Linked DNA regions of Homo sapiens: regions 2, 3 and 4 are each linked to region 1. Evidence: promoter capture Hi-C in 16 types of primary human blood cells and fetal thymus (Javierre and others, 2016). All regions are on one chromosome and are shown on one strand. The core of a region is centred on a gene start or on the middle of the fragment in contact, and the rest is flanking DNA. Distances in the headings are between cores, read along the strand shown.

The links. Contacts are between HindIII fragments. The CHiCAGO score rates a contact against its expected background, and 5 or more counts as called.
Region 2: a contact is called between a fragment that was not itself captured here and the fragment with the promoter of IFNA13 in region 1, in 2 of 17 cell types (total B cells and naive B cells). The highest score is 5.2, in total B cells.
Region 3: a fragment that was not itself captured here is called in contact with the fragment with the promoter of IFNA13 in region 1 in 1 of 17 cell types (M1 macrophages); the score reaches 5.4 in M1 macrophages.
Region 4: a fragment that was not itself captured here is called in contact with the fragment with the promoter of IFNA13 in region 1 in 6 of 17 cell types (naive CD4 T cells, naive CD8 T cells, M1 macrophages and 3 more); the score reaches 6.1 in naive CD4 T cells.

The regions. Positions count from the first base shown.
Region 1 is chr9:21,366,442-21,369,442 of GRCh38, reverse strand. It overlaps IFNA13 (interferon alpha 13), which reads left to right and starts at 1,386. Exons shown (of 1, transcript NM_006900.4): 1 at 1,386-2,071. The coding sequence starts at 1,433. The coding sequence ends at 2,005. The HindIII fragment of the contact is 13,511 bases long and covers 1-3,001 here.
Region 2 is chr9:21,797,449-21,800,592 of GRCh38, reverse strand. No RefSeq gene overlaps it. Among named protein-coding and RNA genes, the nearest start is that of MTAP, 3.6 kb to the left of the region's middle. The HindIII fragment of the contact is 2,027 bases long and covers 834-2,860 here.
Region 3 is chr9:21,755,009-21,758,294 of GRCh38, reverse strand. All of the region lies in intron 1 of LOC107987026 (a long non-coding RNA gene), which reads left to right. Among named protein-coding and RNA genes, the nearest start is that of MTAP, 46 kb to the left of the region's middle. The HindIII fragment of the contact is 2,458 bases long and covers 659-3,116 here.
Region 4 is chr9:21,777,764-21,781,213 of GRCh38, reverse strand. No RefSeq gene overlaps it. Among named protein-coding and RNA genes, the nearest start is that of MTAP, 23 kb to the left of the region's middle. The HindIII fragment of the contact is 2,776 bases long and covers 39-2,814 here.

The DNA of each region.
Region 1 (3,001 bases), core at 137-2,636:
TGTCTGGCATGCTATGTAAAACAATTGTCTACTTATTTATGTTATTATATTTACATCCTATTATGCGCATCTAGGACAAAGATAGTTTCCTTTAGTTTGCTAGGAATCAGCAAAGAACCTCTGAAGGCACCTTGGAAATTTGAACTTTCATGCAAAAAATTTTTAATCAAATCGAGGATGTTTTTTCAATTGTGTATTCTCATTGCATATGATACTACTCCCAAGGATGTAGAAGTTAGTTCTTGGGAGTGGGAACAAATCTTACATATTTAAATGGTTTGTGGCCCTTCAAAGCTCAACCTATTTAACAAAATCTTATTCCTTAGTTTTTTTTTTTTTCTCTCCATTGGGTTTTCTTGTGTATCACATGAGAAGCACTGACATTGAGTTCATGGAAGATACACAAAAGGTATAAAAGTTCAGCATTACAAACCTATGGCAAATGGGTAGCTGTGATTGGAGTACTTTCCAAGATGTATTAGATCTCAAAGTCATATCATGAGAGGTGTCCTCTGCATACATATGGTTTGTCACTGGCCATCTTATAGATATTGCTTATGTTTGATCCTTAGCATTTCTGTCTGTGTTGTGGGCTTTGAAATGAAATATAAATAATTTATATTTTAACAATTCTACTGAAGTTGTTCAACACATCTATATTTAGGTCAAGAATTGAAGAAAAAATTCTTCACACTCTCTAGGTGAGTATCTAGCAGCTAGTGAAGTTAAAAATTTTCTCACATGCAACAAAATTAAAAGTTAAGTATAATAAAAATAAATGATAAAAATATTTTAAATTATTAAGTCTTTATCAGTTTCAAATAATTCATAAACATTCATTACTTAGCTGTATAATGTTTATCTAGAAACATTAGATAATGTTTATAATTTGTTAAATTTCTTATGTAATTTAATACATTACAATTTATATCAGTAAATAAACTATATTGAAGCCCACAAGCAAATTTAGTTATAAAGTTAAGTTAAATTTGAATAGCGTTTAAATTTAACTTTTATCTTAAAATTTTCATTTGGTTATTTTTAAACTTGCATTGAATAAAATGATTAAACTTTGTACTTTTTGAGTATAGAGATATACATATAGTACACAAATAGATAGATATTATATCTGTGTTATTAAATTTTCACGGTGGGTTCAATTAGGAAAAAAAATCTAAAAAGTCTCTGGGAACAAGATGGGGGAGACAATAATGAAAAACAAAATGGTTGAGAAACACGGCTCTAAACTCATGTAAAGAGTTCAAGAAGGAAAGCAAAAACAGAAATGGAAAGTGGTCCAGAAGCATTAAGAAAGTGGAAATCAGTATGTTCCCTATTTAAGGCATCTGCAGGAAGCAAAGCCTTCAGAGAACCTAGAGCCCAAGGTTCAGAGTCACCCATCTCAGCAAGCCCAGAAGCATCTGCAATATCTATGATGGCCTCGCCCTTTGCTTTACTGATGGCCCTGGTGGTGCTCAGCTGCAAGTCAAGCTGCTCTCTGGGCTGTGATCTCCCTGAGACCCACAGCCTGGATAACAGGAGGACCTTGATGCTCCTGGCACAAATGAGCAGAATCTCTCCTTCCTCCTGTCTGATGGACAGACATGACTTTGGATTTCCCCAGGAGGAGTTTGATGGCAACCAGTTCCAGAAGGCTCCAGCCATCTCTGTCCTCCATGAGCTGATCCAGCAGATCTTCAACCTCTTTACCACAAAAGATTCATCTGCTGCTTGGGATGAGGACCTCCTAGACAAATTCTGCACCGAACTCTACCAGCAGCTGAATGACTTGGAAGCCTGTGTGATGCAGGAGGAGAGGGTGGGAGAAACTCCCCTGATGAATGCGGACTCCATCTTGGCTGTGAAGAAATACTTCCGAAGAATCACTCTCTATCTGACAGAGAAGAAATACAGCCCTTGTGCCTGGGAGGTTGTCAGAGCAGAAATCATGAGATCCCTCTCTTTATCAACAAACTTGCAAGAAAGATTAAGGAGGAAGGAATAACACCTGGTCCAACATGAAACAATTCTTATTGACTCATATACCAGGTCACGCTTTCATGAATTCTGCCATTTCAAAGACTCTCACTTCTGCTATAACTATGACCATGCTGATAAACTGATTTATCTATTTAAATATTTATTTAGCTATTCATAAGATTTAAATTATTTTTGTTCATATAACATCATGTGCATCTTTACACTGTGGTTAGTGTAATAAAACATGTTCCTTATATCTACTCAATTCATTATTTTATGTTGTTCATTAAACTTTTACTATAGGAACTTCCTGTATGTGTTCATTCTTTAATACAAAATTCCTAGCCTGACTGTGCAACCTGATGAGAGAATAAAGGGTATAATTTATTTACTCATCATTATTATATGAGAGATGTAAGTAAAAATGACCTTTCTCTAAACCAGGTTGTATGTTGTACTCAAGTTATAAAGGTGAATACAATAAATCTACTTCCTACTCTCTTGCATGTTTGATTTTTGTATGGAATAAAACTAAAAATAGTAATCATACTTAGTATCAGTTATCCTGAATACTATAAGGAGAAAAAGGAATGAACAATGATTTCTTTCGGCAGGAGGTAAACTGAAACATGTGAGGAAATAAAAATAAACAGATATCCTCTATAAGTTGACTGATACAACATGTGGTAGAAACTGTCTATTGCCAGTTGGATATGTGAGTTTGCAAATTATAAGGAATGCAATTGCTGGGAGTTCATATGTGGCAAGCAAAATCCCAGAAATGAAAGTGCTCATGTGTGGAGAGAGTGTAGACAGAGAAAAGGACTTAAACGTGATTCTAAGGACCTTCCACCTTTAAAGGGAAGGAAGAGAAGAGCCACAAAGGAAACAGAGGGATGGACAAATAGAGACAATGGTGATTAATATGGTCTGGAACTGTGTCTCTGCCTAAATCTCAGGCAGACCAGCCTCTAGAATGTATGTGTGTGTGTGTGTGTGTGTGTATGTGTGTGTGTGTGTA
Region 2 (3,144 bases), core at 598-3,097, 430 kb before region 1:
GAAGACAAAATTTTCAATAATTTTGAATACGCAAAAATTTTCAGTGGTCTCCCTTTTTGATTACTATGTCAACAAGACAAGGAGAGTCGGTCTATTTGTGAACATAGATTTTGCCCTGCCCTTCTGTTCTTATCCTATAAATCCCCCTCTGTTAACCTGTACCCTTGCTTTTCTAAAGATAATTATCAAGAACTAGGTCACCTTACAACAATTCTGATTATGAAACAGTATAAGGATTCCAACAGCTTCTCCCTTTTTGATAATCTCTCATAAATGTCTTCCCAACTTCTAGGTCCTAGCCAACAAAGTACTGAAATGGTTATCACCAGTAGCTGACTATGTTGGGTCTTGAGCAGTGGTTCTTCAGTGTCCTACAGTTCCCTTTTACTAAACATGTTATTTTTGAAGTCGTCTCCAAACCATTCCAGAATCATCAAATCTTCAGGAGGAAGTATTCACACAAATGCATGAAATGTATCACCTCAGCCAACCATATCAGCTTTCCCACTGAATTGTTATATTTCTGCCCCTGACCAGTATGTCTGTCCTGGATGGGTACTACAAAATGGGCCCAAGCTGGCTGGTAACCCATCCTCATCTGAAGGTATTAAAGCTGGCAAGTTGTCATGGCCTAAGAAACTCACATAACTCCCCACTACCTTGTAGATATTTGGGCCAAAATAAAAATTCTAAATAACATGGAGGTGTGCTTAGAGATCCCCAATGGTGTGTGAATCACATCTTTTTACAATACACCTGTATCACAGCCACAATGAGTAGGGACATTTTGGCCACTACTTTTGACAATGGATTAGATTCCCACATTGGAAGCTTTGTGAAAAAGCTAAAGTTCTATTAGCAAGCAGCCACTCTAGATTTAGCAGAACATTGTTGAAAAAATATCTGGGGGAACAATAAGTAAACTAATTATAATAATGACAGTAATACATTTTAAAAATTATTGCATCTTCAGATTCTCAGCCAGGCAAGCCTATGCCAGCATGAAGAAGCCAAAGATGTCTGAACTGGTATAAATTCAGGTTCAAAATCCACAACATCATCGTTGTGCACAGTGTGGTCATTGGGAAGAAAAAAGTTAAACTCAGAGACTCAATGCCCTTAATAAAATTGTATCCAAAGAAACTTCTCCACAGGCAATTATCAGAATAATCAACTTCTCTTTATCCTGCCCAAGAAGGAAAAAAAATGTACTGAAAAGAAAATAGTGGCTAGTGTTTATTAAGAAGCAAAAGATATGCAAGTATGTACCAGGCCAGTCCTAAGGTACCCTTCTGAAAAAACATTGAATATAATTGGATAAATGTATAAGAGATTTGTCTGCAATCCAAGTTCTCTTAACACTCTTGATTGTAAATAACTGAACAAATTATTGATCTAAAAAATACAGCTATGTGTCTTTACCCTGACTCTGCAGTATAGACCATGATACAACATAAACATTAACATTTTAGTAACTAGAGACTTAGATATTTTTGTCATAGAAGGCCTAATTGAACCTTTCTAAATTTCTTATAGGTTAGTATGTGACTATTACTCTAAAACTTTAAGGAAATAAGAACAAAAAACAAAGAGAAGTGTTCCATTCTCCCATTATCATAGTGATAAAACAAAATAAGTAGTATGTCACAAGTGAAGAAAATATTACTGAAATCTAATATTAAAAATGCATTTATTGCAGGTACTTTATAGAGGGAATTGCAAGTGATATACTAGGTTTCTCAAAAAATATTTACATCACATTTTAGGTGGCAATTCCTTATAATGACCTTTAATGAAAGTGGAGAGTCCAGTTATAAAGTGTAACCTGGCATCTGTGTTTTTGGTTGAGGGAAGAACCCCATGCTTTAAAATGAGTTAAGTAGGGTCAGTTTTGACAGTCTGCTTTAAAGTTGGTATGCTCCAGATAGTTGGAATTAGCCATATGTTTCTTGTTGCAATAGAATCAAGTTCTCCTTCAGTTTTCTTTATTCGTTCCTTCTATTCAAAGTCCCTTTTACCCTAGAAATATCCTTCATTGCAAATCACCTTGTCTTGTCTTCAAAGTTCACTTCAAATTGTATCTCCCCTATCATTTCTGAAACTCTACTGAAGATGACTTAAGTTGCATATAATTTGGATTTTTTGAAGTAAAATCTCACCATTTTTTCACTTTTCTTAGATTAATGCTGCACATTAAAAGCATATTCAGGTTAACAGAATGGCCATCTACCCTGGACTCCCAGGATCTTCACATACCTATTATAAATAATAATAGGTATTATTATTTCTGTTATAGGATAAGCAAAGTGTAAGATTAAGCCCTGAACCCTATACCTCCCTCAGTGAAAGAGAGAGTATGTTCAATCTTGATCTGAAGAGACATGATTCTCAGCTTCTGTGCTTTGTATAGAAAAGGGCCAAAAAGTAATAGATACCCAGATGTATTTTAATATCACAGATGCAACATAATCTCTGCTTAGCGTGTCAGGATCTAAAGCTATGATGAAAGACCCATATAATGAGCTCTTATGTGACCCACTGCTCTTTATTCCACTTTAAAAACTTAAGGCAGGAAATAAGTCTAAAAGCATTGCTTTTCTTCTCTGGCAAATCCATATGTTGTCTGTACATACAATCCTAAAAACAAATTGGGAACAAAGTCATATTTGTCTTCTGAGCATCTTCAAGAGCAACAACAAAACAGCTAATATTTATTAAGAGCCACATATTCTTCATTTAATCCTCACAGATATTAATGTCATTGCTATTAATGTAATTTCCATTTTACAGAGGAGGAGAGAGAGAGAAGTTGAATTGCTGTAACTTCATCTTTTCTGCTTATTTGCCTCTCCCCAAAGCTTCCTTGTCCGTTTGGAATCTTCAGGACTTCCCTCTCTCTAGCCCATCAAAATGTCAATCAAACCTATCAAACCTGTTAAGTTGCCAAAATCACCTTAAAATGTTACCTCACCCAGGGGTTTATGAATTTTACAGGTATTAAGCCTTAAATTGAGATAATTAAATTCTAGGTAGGATGTGATGTTTGAGAAAGGACAAGTGTTGGTGTTATTATCACTATCATTGCATGAGGAACATGAGGCTCAGAGCATTTAAGAAGTCTTCTCAAATTTATATAACTAAAGT
Region 3 (3,286 bases), core at 638-3,137, 390 kb before region 1:
AATTTTTGTATTTTTAGTAGAGACGGGGTTTCACCATACTGGCCAGCTGGTCTCAAACTCCTGACCTCAAGTGATCTGCCTGCCTTGGCCTCCCAAAGTGCTGGGATTACAGGCATGAGCCACTGCACCTGGCCTTGGATTTTATTTATAATGTAAATGTTTTCTCATTTTTTTACTGCTCTTTTTTTGTTGCCATCAAAAAGTTTTTAAGTTAATAAACAATTTTAGTAGTCACATAAGTGTGCTGAGGTTAGGTAGACCAGAATGGAATATGAGAATTATGACTCAGGTTTCTTGAGTAGGTAAAAATTTGTTAGGAGTACCTCCAATAAATATCTGTCTTTAAAAGTCTAATTTATTTCCAAGCTATAGGTTGCATTTAGAAGACTGGGACTCCAATTCTGGGCTCTCTCTCTCTCCCTCTCTTAACTTCCCAGTGCCTAATTCTCCACAGCACAGGAACACTTATATATTTCTGGGACAAAGGCAAATATATGCAGGCTCCTCAGGTTAACACTGGAATGAGATCTCCTGACAGGAAAAAGGAAGCCAACGTGTTTTAGCAATCGCTTTTCCATAATAAACTGTAATGCTTTTGCAGAAGGTGGGTCCTGACACAAGGCTTTTTGAGGATTAAGTAGATTTTAGTCATCAAGCTTGATTCCAGCTAGGGCTTTGATATGTTTTCTTTATGTCAGATAATATATGTTTTTTTTTTAAAGAAGTATGATTTCTCTAGGGCAGATGTTTGATGGAAATTTATGGGCAAATTAGATCATCACTGAACTGATTTATTCTCTTGGTGTGTAACATTTAAATATTGATTGTGAGAGTCTCTGCCTTCAAAGAACTTATAGGCTAGTTATTGAGACACACAGCAAATTACAATATAATGTTGAAAATGCTATCAGTGCAATGGGAATCCATAGCAAGGGGTGCCTCAGTAAGATACTTGGGGGTAGGGGATAGGAAGACTGCAGCTTGGGCAGCATCTGTGTTGTCCCGGTAAAGGGAAAGTTATTAGTAGGTGAAGGACCTTAAGAGTGAAGCTAACACAGCCTTGGTGCTGAGGTGAAGGGTGCACACAACTAATACCTAATGATATGTGATAAGAAGCGCAGTGAGAAGTGTGGATCAGATTAGATACCTGGAAAATAGTGGAGAACCAGAAATTATTGAAAGATTACTGTTGATCCCAGTGCTCTTCAGTATAGCTTCAATGCACTTTCAAGGAGATCAGTGTGCACATCAACTTCCTTCGTTTGCCTGCACAGAGACTTTCATCTGAGTGGGCCAAAGTTAGACTCAACCATTCAGGGCCTGAGATTCATTTCTTAAGACCAGTGCTGTTCAAGAGAAATATAATATAATGCATGCCATGTGAGCTACATATGCAATTTTTTTTTACCAGTCACATTAGAAAAATAAAAAGAAACAGGTGAAATTAATTTTACTAATATACTTCAACTCAATAGATCAAAATATCTCAACAAGTAATCAACATAAAAATTGAGATGTTTTGCTTTTTGATACTGATATATTTTATATATATGTAGATATATATATAGGTATTTATACTGTCTCCTAAATCCAGTGTGAAGTTTTACACTCACAGCACATCTCAATTCAGATTATTCACACTTCAGATACACAATAGCAACATGTGGCTGGGGGTTACTGACAAATTAAAGCTACCCAGACCACTCCCTGCACAAGAGTATAACTGTGTTTTGGTTCATCTCTTCACCAGTTAAGGATGCCGAATCCTATGATGTCCTAGAAATCATTCTGTTACTCAGGCATTTACTCATTCATTCATGCCCTTGTTCTTAGAACAAACATTTATTGAGCACCTCCTATATGTGAAATACTTCACTGTGAGAAGGGGAACATTGACCATAAAAATGAATAATACCATCTAGTATCAGAAAGAGAGGCGGAAACAAATATTCACAAGATGTTATGACAACAGTAATAAGTGGAGCAGTGAAGCAGTGATTGTCCATGGAATAGGAAGTGGATATGCCAGAGTTTATGCTGGGGTAGGGGTGGGGAAGGGGAGTTGTGGGTGTTTCAAATTAAACTCATACCCTGGAAATTTCAACCTCACAAGAGAGAACCATTGTTGCCTCACCCATAGAAAGCCCCTTCTCATATAAAACCCCACTGAGACAGCATTACTGATAGGATCATGCCAAATCCCAGGGGTGCTAATGTGCAAAGAAGGTTGCAGGACATTGAATTAAGAGGATATGCAAATTTCTATGGGACACTGGGGGGATTCTGAAGGACTTCATTGAAAAGGTGGTATTTTTGTTGCATTTTGAAGGATAAGTTTATCAATTTAAAGAAGAGCATTCTAGGAAGAGGATACAAAGAATACAATGTGCAAAGGCACGTAAGTGGGGAAGGAGGAAATGTATTATGTTTAGTAAACAATAAAGATTCATATAACTGCATCGTAGGGTGGTGTGTGTGTGTGTGTGTGTGTGTGTATGTGTGTAAAGTGGGTTAGACATGTTTGATAATATAGTTTGGGACTATATTTTGATGAGTAATGTGTACTCCATTAAAAAGTTCTCACCCTGTGTTTTAGGGAATTAACATTATTTCTCCCCACAATCAATACTTTCTTCATAGTCAAATTCAAATTTCAGGAAAATCCTTGATTAGAATTATATCTCTTTGGCTTCTCTTCTACCCCTATCTCTTTTTTTCTGGACAACTGAATTTTCAGACATTAATATGAACCAGTGACTGAAAAACATTTCCTCTGTCAACTAATTTATCTTCTTACTGAATGAATAATCAAATTCAATTGGATTAAACAAGCTGTAATACCACTGTCAAAAGCCATTAGCAATATAAGAGCTTCAAGCCATAAAGAACTATTTTTGTATATCTTAGAGTTTTCTTCATGAAAGGAAAAACTCAAACTAAAGGAAATAATGTGTGTCATTACAAGCTCTGAGTCCTTTAGGGTCTTCTCATCAGCTCTGTGGTTTATTTATTTTTTCTTTTCTTTTTGTCAAGATTAAGAGTAGTGCTGTCTACTTGATTATCTCAAAAGTACAATGTTTTCTTGGCAGGATTAAAAACCTGGATGTATCAAAGCTTGCACATTATTCGAATTTTGAAATAAAAAACAATGAGGGGACATAATGAAAACCAAGGAGGAGGGGTGGGGAACTTGATACCCCCTTCTTCCTTTTGAGAGATCATTTTATCCACTTCCTGGAGCTATTGTACCTTCCCTGAAAGAATGACACCTTACATTTCCTAAATT
Region 4 (3,450 bases), core at 177-2,676, 410 kb before region 1:
TTTTGTAGCTGAGTGAACTTGAAAAAACTTATTAAGCTTCTTTGCACTTCAGTTTCCTCACCTATAACATAGAGATATTAATAGTAGCTAACGAATGAGGTTGTTTCAGGATTATATTAGATTAAATATACAAAGTACTTAGAACAGTGCTTGACACATCGTAAGTGCTTAGCAAATATTAGCTACTACTATTATCAATTTTGAAATGAATATATTAAGAACGTAGCTCCTTTTTAAATTATACTTTAAGTTCTAGGGTACATGTGCACAACGTGCAGGTTTGTTACATATGTATACATGTGCCATGTTGGTGTGCTGCACCTATTAACTCATCATTTACATTAGGTATATCTCCTAATGCTATCTCTCCCCTCTCCCCCCACCCCATGACAGGCCCCGGTGTGTGATGTTCCCCGTCCTGTGTCCAAGCGTTCTCATTGTTCACTTCCCACCTATGAGTGAGAACATGCAGTGTTTGGTTTTTTGTCCTTGCGATAGTTTGCTGAGAATGATGGTTTCCAGCTTCATCCATGTCCCTACAAAGGACATGAACTCATCCTTTTTTATGGCTGCATAGTATTCCATGGTGTATATGTGCCACATTTTCTTAATCCAGTCTATCATTGATGGACATTTGGGTTGGTTCCAAGTCTTTGCTATTGTGAATAGTGCTGCAGTAAACATATGTGTGCATGTGTCTTTATAGCAGCATGATTTATAATCCTTTGGGTATATACCCAGTAATGGGATGGCTGGGTCAAATGGTATTTCTAGTTCTAGATCCTTGAGGAATCGCCACACTGACTTCAACCATGGTTGAACTAGTTTACAGTCCCACCAACAGTGTAAAAATGTTCCTATTTCTCCACATCCTCTCCGGCACCTGTTGTTTCCTGACTTTTTGATGATCGCCAAGGAATGTAGCTCCTTTTAATCTTAATCCAAATTCTATATGTGTTTATGGGGTGTAATCTCTGTACACATGCAATTTTAAACTTATTTTTTCTTTTTTCTGCATAAATATCTTTTTGATTTGGCTATATAGACTTCATGTGTTACTTTTAATAGCTCCATCAAGTTGTTGCATCATTTCCTGCAATAGTGCAAGAATGCCACATACCTTTTATAGTATTATAACGATACTTTTGTTGTAATATGTACAGGTTGTTCCTACTATTATTTTATTATATATGCAAGACGGCACTCAGATTTACCCTTGTTTTTGAGTGAGGCAAAATATAATTATATTTCATAACTGTAAAGTAATATCACAAGGAACATGTTGGAAAATTTATATTAATTCTATTGTTTTTTGCTTAAGGAACATAATTGCTAAAGATAAAATGTGAACTTTTAGAAGAATGACATTTCAATAAAACTTTCTAAAATGGTTGCCCTAAGTTACAATATCGTATTATGTGAATATTTTACAGCATGTCATCACTAGAATTTGTATTATTATTTGATAGATATAAACAAATGTTTATATCTCTTCTTGTGTGAAGTCTTGCTCATATCATTTGACCACTGAACTCTTGAAATTCTTTTCTTTTCTTTTTTATTGAGACAGAGTCTCACTCTGTCATCCGAGCTGAAATGCAGTGGTGCAATCATGAATCACTGCAGCCTTGATCTCCTGGGTTCAGGCAATCCACCCACCTCAGCCTCCAAGTAGCTGAGATTGCAGGCATGTGCACCCACACCTAGCTAATTTTTTAATTTTCTGTAGAGATGGGGTCTCCCTACATCGCCAAGGCTGGTCTTGAACTCCTGGGAGCAAGCAATCCTCCCAGGTTGGCTTCCCAAAGTGTGGAGATTAAGGTGTGAGCCACCTTGCTTGGGCGGAATTATTTTCTTATACACTTAAATTTAGATATGAACCCTTTTTTTTTTACATCTGATGAAAATAATTTTCCCTTCCATTGTAGTTTTTTGATTTACATAATTGTGATTTTTCAAATCTTTACGTATTTGAAAATTTTTCTTTGAATCTTTTTTATTATATCTGGTTTCATCCAGATAAAATTATCTTGTTCTTCTATTTTTTCTTATAAATGAATTCTTAACTTTGCGGTTTATTGTGATATGCCATATAAGAATGATTGAAAAAAAAAAGTTGCAGACCATCACGTTGAACATCTGGTATTTGGTTTTATGAGATAATAATTATAAGAAATACAATAGGATTCTACTCACTGTAGAAGCTGAGAGCAGAAGGCAGATTTTTTGAAGGGAATGTCTCTTTACTTTCCTTATTGCATTAGATCTCCCTGATCCAAACAACAAGCTCTGAGAAAGGGAAAAAAAAATCTATGCCCCAAATAGAGCAGAGTTTAGAACTAAAGACAATGCTGGCATCTCATTGTCTCCTTAGGTTAGGTGATCTAATTTATCTTTTCGTTTTATGAAATTAATCTCAAGCGAACACACTGTTCACACTTTTAAGTTAAGGGATGCTTAATGTGCTTAGTGCAAGCTAGAAATATTGATTTCTTAATGTAACACTTAAACACATATATTATTGCATCAATTCCTGGCAGAAACTATTTTAACTCTTTGAACTAGTAAAAAAGGAAAGTCCTGTTTGTGGTTAAAAATATGAGTGCATTTAGTAACACTTCCGGCCTGGTAAAATTACAATCCAGAAATGCTAACAAAAAATGTTGCCTTATTTGGTTACTTCACTTTAGCACAACAAAACCTTGTCTTTGGTTCTTTAAGCAGTTAACTTCAGTACCTCAAATGTTTCTTAATCTAGGTGCTGAAAATGAAAAGATACATAAGAAAAGATTTCTGCTGGGGCAATTTAAAGCTTAGTGCAGACAGATACAGAAAATTGATTGCAACATAATTTGGTAAATCTTAAGAACCAGACCATTTAACTGCTTGTGTCAAAGATTTTAAAGGAGACTCACAGTTTACAGTTAACAGTAGAGGGGCTATTATCCTATCTCCCTTTTGACACTGCCCCCAGCTCAACTTAAAAGGGCTTCAGAACCTCCCAGGCTCCTTTCACACCACCTCAAGCACCTAGCTCCTCAACCTGCTTCATCATCACATACCACCCAAGGATCCTATCCCAAGAAGGAGGATATACTTAGAATTAATTTTCCACCTTTCCTTTAGAGGCGATGGAACTAATCATCATGTTTCATACTCCTTTTGGCCTCAGTCACCATAGAAGTCCAAGCATTCCAGGTCACCACAGGAACTCTCCTCCATATGTTTCTGTATATCCCTTGATCTGACTCAATCTCCCATTCCTTCCAAAACTGCAATCCCTTCCAATGCAGCTGCTAGAATTCAGGGCTTGGGAAGCACAGTCTCTTTTATTTTCCAACTCTTCTTTGAACAACACCTTCACCTTCTTGCTCTAAGCCCTGGCTCACCACCCAACCCAACCCATATCCTGTTTACCTTCAGCCTTTGCAGGGGGTGGTGGTTTTTGCT